2 separate regions of the Homo sapiens genome follow, and region 1 is linked to region 2. Evidence: promoter capture Hi-C in 16 types of primary human blood cells and fetal thymus (Javierre and others, 2016). All regions are on one chromosome and are shown on one strand. The core of a region is centred on a gene start or on the middle of the fragment in contact, and the rest is flanking DNA. Distances in the headings are between cores, read along the strand shown.

The links. The method cuts DNA at HindIII sites, captures the fragments that hold promoters and counts their contacts. A CHiCAGO score of 5 or more calls a contact.
Region 1: the fragment with the promoter of CCDC71 here is called in contact with the fragment with the promoter of AMT in region 2 in 1 of 17 cell types (endothelial precursors); the score reaches 7.1 in endothelial precursors.

The regions. Positions count from the first base shown.
Region 1 is chr3:49,164,407-49,167,735 of GRCh38, forward strand. CCDC71 (coiled-coil domain containing 71) reads right to left here and starts at 1,925. Exons shown (of 2, transcript NM_022903.4): 1 at 1,861-1,925. RefSeq lists silencers at 1,687-1,746, 1,767-1,846 and enhancers at 1,997-2,066, 2,087-2,206. The HindIII fragment of the contact is 8,654 bases long and covers 1,452-3,329 here.
Region 2 is chr3:49,420,770-49,424,174 of GRCh38, forward strand. AMT (aminomethyltransferase) reads right to left here and starts at 1,704. Exons shown (of 9, transcript NM_000481.4): 1 at 1,592-1,704; 2 at 1,335-1,502; 3 at 723-803. The coding sequence starts at 1,681. It overlaps NICN1 (nicolin 1, tubulin polyglutamylase complex subunit), which reads right to left. Exons shown (of 6, transcript NM_032316.3): 6 at 1,564-3,405. RefSeq lists enhancers at 579-1,331, 1,332-2,085. The HindIII fragment of the contact is 5,136 bases long and covers 1-3,405 here.

The DNA.
Region 1 (3,329 bases), core at 675-3,174, 260 kb before region 2:
CTGACCCTCTACCATGCTGGGGTGGGAGGAGAGGCTAAGGATCAGGGAGTTTCTTCAAGATACATGCTCAGAAATACCTCAGAGCCATCCAACCTGCTGCCGGGTCCCTGAAAAGATTTGAGCCTGGTACATTTTAATTCAACTCTGTATTTTCTGAAGCCAGAAACCTAGAATTACTCAGCTCTGGGAATACAGGCAATATCCCTGTCCTCAAGGAACCTAGGTTAGAAGGCCAGAAAAAGACACTGTTAAGATTCTTGGGAGTGAATGCTGGCATTCAGCTCAGTTTGCCAATGGGTCAGGAAAGGATTCCTGGGAGAGACAACACCTAGCTAGGATATGAGTGATGAATGAAAAATGATTAGATGGAAATGGAACAAAAAGGGGAATAGCTAATGCAATGGCTCCAAAGTGAGAAAGGGTTAAGGCATACTTGGTGTGGGATCTGGGATCTAGGTGAAAAAACAGGCGAGGATAGAGCAACAAAGAACCCTGAATGTTAGCCAAAGGGCCCAGACTTACACCCACTGTCCATGCCCATCTGTTTCTCCAGCTGCTGCTGTTCATGTGTGGAGCTGGAGTGGGGTGGGGGAATCTCCCTGCCCACCAGAAGTTCTGTTTTCAGTCTCTAGACAGGGTACTCAGCAACCCATTTTCTAGCTCCAGAGGCATGGAGACCTAATCAAGAGTCGGACTTTTCTTCAACAGAAACTAAAAAGCTGATGAGTAGCAGGTGCCAATGACATCTCTCTAGGCAACCAGGCAGACCAGGGACCAGGAAGCCAGACCAAGATCCCAAAGTTTAAGGACAATGGGAGCCAAAGGCTGCAAGTAGGATGGTGAGTCAAGGGGACATTAGCGGTATGCACTGTCCTACCTAAGACTTGGAGGGCCACAGACCTCAGTACAGCCCAGATGGAGGTGACTGAGAACACCTAACTACTCCCAGACTTCTTTAAAGAAGCTGTGGACATCAATCATAACTAACATCTAATACCCAACCCAACACTGAGGGTTCCCAGAAGCAAGAGGCAGCTCCCCAGCTGCACCAGAGCATTAAAAGATCAGCCAGGATCAGGCAGGTCCCTCGGGCCATGAGGCCCGTCTGTGTAGTTTCTTCCCACCGCTCTAATGCAGCAGATGAAGTCTTCAGAATACCCTGGAGGAAATGCCCTAGGGCTCTTTGTTTGGAAACATTCTTGGATCCTCAGGTGTCTTGGGCACTTCCCCTCCCCAGAGACCGTTCTCCAAGCACAATCCTTGCACATGACTTTAGTTCTTTATTAATGTTTTTTGAAGGGATGTAGTTCCCAGAGCTGTGAACTGTAGAAGAGAGAGGGACCTATTTCCCACCCTCACACGCGCCCCAGCGCAAATATTTGGGGTGACCTGGGGGCTCTTCCACCCAGGTTAGGCTGGGCTCTTGGGAGGGGTTTTCTGGGCTTTCGAGAAGCTTCGGAAACAGAGGCTCCTGCCCGGCCTCCGACTTCCCTTCACACGTGCCCCCGGGGAAGGCAGGAGAAGTTGACGGAAGATAGGGCGTGAGAGAGGCGCCACACAGGCAGACCGGGGGAGGGGGCAGATCGGGGCCCTCAGGCTGGGAATGCACGTCCTTAGGGCCCAAGCCGTGAGGCGGGGGTCACTGAGGCAGCGAAATGTACAGGGTGAACGGTGCTAGCCCTACCGGGACCGCACAGCCCCAGGGTGGGGTCGCTGGGCGCGGGGTGGGGGTGGGGTGGGGGGTCTCGGCCAGGCCGGCGGAGGACGCGGGTCCGGGAAGAGTTGGCCGCTTGCCCGTCCGCCCTGCCGCCTCGCGGGCCGCCCCTCCGCGGCGCGGCTAGGCCCGCGGCTCCAACCTACCGGCGCCGCCGCGGGGACCCAAGACGCGCCTCTGCGCCGCCTCCGCTGCTCCAACATGGCCGCCCGCTGCGCGCCGGAAGTGCACTGCGCTTCCGCTTCCGGGACCCAGCCCGCCCTACCGACCCTTGACCCCTGAGACCCCATTTCCCCACAAAGTCTGGGGGCGGAGCAGATTGGGTACCAAGGAGGACTGCCTGGAGGTGGTGGCCGCGGTGACTGCTCCAAACCCGTTCGGCCCTGTGCAGAAGTCTGAAGAACAGAGGTGCCCTCTGACGCGGCCCCAGGCAAGGACTCACTAGAGCCCGGCCAAGACTGGATTAGGGGTCATCTGACACCTTTTCTGAGGGGAGCTAGTGGTGCATTGACATCTGGGAGGGGCTCCTGACAAGGTTCAGGCCATCTTCCACCCTCTGATCTATCTTTAGCCACTGACAATGCCCACTTCAGTCCCAGACACCTGACCAGAGGGTGAAAGAGGAGTGCCTCCTGACAGGGAGTCTCAGGTGATCTCCTTTGTTTTGCAGTAAGGGTATCTTCTCCGAGGACAGCAGGCCTTCCTCTCTTCCTGAGAATAGGGCCTGTGGCACATGGCATGAAAGGCTGGTGTGCACGTGATCACAAGTGGTGCACGCAAGCCCAAGCGCACATGGAGTCTGGGGGCTCCAGTATACCACTGTGGGCCTGAGTATACTTGCTCAGGCAGGTGGGGGCAGGTATAGTCACTGGCCCAGCCTCAGCCCCTCAATGGAAGGAAGTCCTGCTTCCAGTCTTAACACTGCCCAGAACCCCTTTCCTTTTGCCTAGGAGTCTGGGACCTCAGTCTTTTTATCCATGCTCTTGGGCTAGTACGGGGTGGTGGTTATAGGACACAGGTCAAAATCAACCCTAGGGGTCTGTGACTTCAGTGAGAGGTCAGAGTGGTCTCCACAGCTCTGACCAAAGGTCCCATTAGTCAGAGGTTTGCAAGTCCAGGTTGGGAACCATCCTGGGAGCCCTGGTTTCATGGATGAGGTAGTGGGGGCATTTGCACTAGGGTCAGAGCCTGAGCCAGGAGGCAGAAATATTGCCACAACTCTTGGACTCTGACCCTTGCAGTGGTGCCTTATTTGGTAGTTGGGGTCAGGTGGAAGCCTATTGGCAATCACAGGAGGGTGGCGGGATGCTTCATTTAGGGACTGGGTACTAGCCCTTTTTCCTGCCCTTTTTCCAACCAGGATCCTCTGGTTGCTCTGTATTTTCCCTGCTTATACAGAGGGGTCCAGGCACTCCTAAAGACAAGTGCCTAGTCCACCCAGCAGTGCCATAGGCCTCATCTGGTGCCTCTTAGCTTCCCAGGGCCTCAGCACTAATGGTGAGGTCCTCGCTGCTTTTAAGTATAGCCAAGGTATCTAGCAGGAACTGCAAAATCTCCTGTTCCTCTGGGGTCAGTGCTTCTAGCCTTTTTTTCCTGGTGGAGAGAAAGCAAGAGT
Region 2 (3,405 bases), core at 454-2,953:
CCTTAGCCTCCCCACTGGATGGACAAAAAGCCTGAGGTTGAGGGGGTCACATGAATCACCTGGGGATCTTGTTAAAATGAAGGTTCTGATTCAGCAGGTCTGCAGCAGTGCCTGAGACTATATTCCTAACAAGCTCCAAAGATGCTGGTTTAGAGACCACACTTTGTTGTTGTTATTTTTCTTTTTAGACTGAGTCTCACTCTGTTGCCCAGGCCAGAGTGCAGTGGTGCAACCTCAGCTTGCTGCAACCTCAGCCTCCCGAGTAGCTGGGACTACAAGCACGCGCCACCACGCCCGGCTAATTTTTGTGTTTTTAGTAGAAACGAGGTTTTGCCATGTTGGCCAGGCTGGTCTCGAACTCCTGACCTCAGGTGATCCACCCGCCTTGGCCTCCCCAAGTGCCAGGATTACAGGTGTTTGAGTCACGTCGCCTGGCCAGGGACCACATGTTGAATAGAGAGGGGTTAAGCAGAAGGGATGGCCAGAGAGCAGCATATTAACCTTGGTTTCTGGCCTCCTAGCCTGATGTAGTAAGACTGGGATATTCCCCTCCCTACAAATGTCTGTGTCTCTGGAAATGACTCAGGGATTCTGTCCAAGACTGCAAGCCCTGAGAAGCTGTGTTTGACTCATCTCTGTGCCCCTAAGCCTGAGGTAGGGACTCAGCCCATTTGCTGGCTCATGACTAAGAAAACTCATAGAGCAGAAATAAAAGGGCCCACCTGGTTTGGTCTTAGCTCTGCAATGTCTCCAACCACTAGACTCTCCATCAGCTTCACCCGGTCACTACCAAGTATCTTGGTCTGGGGAAGAGATTGAAAGCCTCAGGCCATTGCAACAGCTACAATCCAAAAGGCTACTAAGCAAGGATGCATCCTCCCTGCCATCCACAGTGCAGTCCAGCCCACCCAAAGTGACTAACCAGTCTTTTGGTTCTACACGTGGCAAAGGACCACCTTCTGATTTCCTGACCTCCCCCAGTCACTCTGTGTGGGGGGACTGCCAGGGAACTGGACAGGACCTAGCACCTTCCTGAAATAACCCCTTTTCAAACCAACATCCAGCCCAATACATGAGAGTGGGTGTCAGCCCTGGAAAACCCGGGACATTAAGGCACACCATTTAATGGGGGCAAGCTAGAAGGATGAGATGATGAGACCCTCTGAGCTCATTTCCTTGGGGCCATTGACCTATCCATGACACCCCCATGACCTCTAGCTCTTCTGAGAAGGCTGTCCTTGGAATCCAGTTCACAGCAAACAAAGCCAAGGAGTGGACCACTGTAAACAGGGAGGAAGGCCTGATCAGATGGCCAGTGTGCTCCCCTGGCTCACCTGCAGCATATGAGACACGTCAAAGAGCGAGCAGTGCTGGCGTGTGTGCAGGTGCGAGTCAGTGTGACTGTCCCGGTACTGCACTGGCAGACTCCAACCCGCAAACGCCACCATTTTCCCGCCGTGGGCCAGGTGGAAGTCATAGAGCGGTGTCCTGCGGAGCACCTCCTGTGGGCGGCTGGGCTTAGTGCCACCAGGGCCCTAGCCCCCAGCCGCTTCCCTCCCCCACCCTCCAAGATCAGCACCCTCTATCCCACCTGTGCGCAACTAAGTGGACGACACAAGGCCGGGGGGAATGCCTGCAGGCGAAAGCCCAGACGGGCCACCACACTTACAGCCCTCTGCATCGTCGCCTGCAACGAGTGCAGACGGCGCACAGAGGCCACCACACTGCCAGGCACGCCGGGAGATGTAGTCCAGGCCTCTGCTCGGACAGGTCTCTCTCCGGAGCAAAGGATCTGAAGGGGGCGTGGGCAGCCCCAAGGGCAGGCTGGGATTTAGAGCAGAGAATGCAGGAACCCGCAACCACAGGGAAGAAGCCTCCAGCTCTTTCGGCTGACTCTTCAGGGCAGCTCGGGCAATCCAGAGCTGATTGGGCTGCCCAGAACAAAGCTAGGGGCTAGACCGCCCCCTGCAGAACCGCCCTGTCTCCAGAGGGTCAAAGTTCTGGAAAGGGCTGAAAGGTCTGAATCATACCTTTAGGACCTCAAGAGAGTAAGGTCAAGTGGGGGTGGGGAAGGTGGGCCAGCCTGGCAGGTAGGCAGCACCACAGTAGTCTGTCCTCATGTGGACCCCTAGTTCCACAGCTCTCCCACCAGGCAGACACAGGCAGCCAGCAGTCATGCATTCCACAAGTATTTATTGATCTTACTGCATACCAGGCCCTCAGATGGGGACACAGCCACGAATGAAGCATGGTCCCTGCTACCACAAGGTCCTCTTCACTTACACACACACTGAGGACTACTGCTTCGTCACGCTTTCCGAAGCAGCTGAGTGGGGCTATGTAAGTGACCTTGCAGATGAAGTCGCCACCTGCAAGAACTCACAGGTGAGAACAGAGGGTGGCCACCAAAAGGTCACTGAACTCCCCCGAGAAAACTGTTGAGCCACACACATGTCCAACTTTCCAGGTCCAAGACATACTGCAGTACTGCTTTGTAATAGCCACCAGGTGCAAAGCCAGGAAGAACCAGAGGGAAACAGGTTTTTCTCACATGAGGGAAGAGCAGCCTGCATCACTTAATGGTTGGACTGAGTTAATGCAGGACTTAGGCCTCTTAAAAGGCAACAATGAGAACCCTTACTTGGACCCACTCCCCACCACGGTTGATCTCTCATTATGCTGAGCATATCTCTTGGAAAGGGGCAGGGCGGGCGCGGTGGCTCATGCCTGTAATCCCAGCACTTTGGAAGGCCAAGGCAGGCAGATCACCTGAGGTCAGGTGTTTGAGACCAGCCTGACCAACATGGAGAAACCCCATCTCTACTACAAATACAAAATTAGCCAGGCATGGTGATGCATGACTGTAATCCCAGCTACTCGGGAGACTGAGGCAGGAGAATTGCTTGAACCTGGGAGGCGGAGGTTGCAGTTAGCCAAGATTGCACTATTGCACTCCAGCCTGGGCAACAAGAGCAAAACTCAACCTCAAAAAAAACAACAAAAAAGGAGAGGGGCAACTGGGAGAAAGGATAGAGATGTGCTTTGGGCTATGTCAGATGGCAGAAGGGTCCCAGTTCTTTTTTTTTTGTTTGTTTGTTTAAGATGGAGTTTCGCTCTTCTTGCCCAGGCTGGAGTGCAATGGCATGATCTCAGGTCCGCAACCTCCACTTCCCGGGTTCAAGAGATTCTCCTGCCTCAGCCTCCCAAGTAGCTGGGATTACAGGTGCCTACCACCACGCCCAGCTAATTTTTTGTATTTTTAGTAGAGACGGGGTTTCTCCAGGTTGGTCAGGCTGGTCTTGAACTCCTGACCTCAGGTGATCCGCCTGCCTGGGCCTCCCAAAGTGCTGGGATTACAGGCGTGAGCCACTGCACCCTGCCTAGAAGGGTCCCAGTTCTTATGCT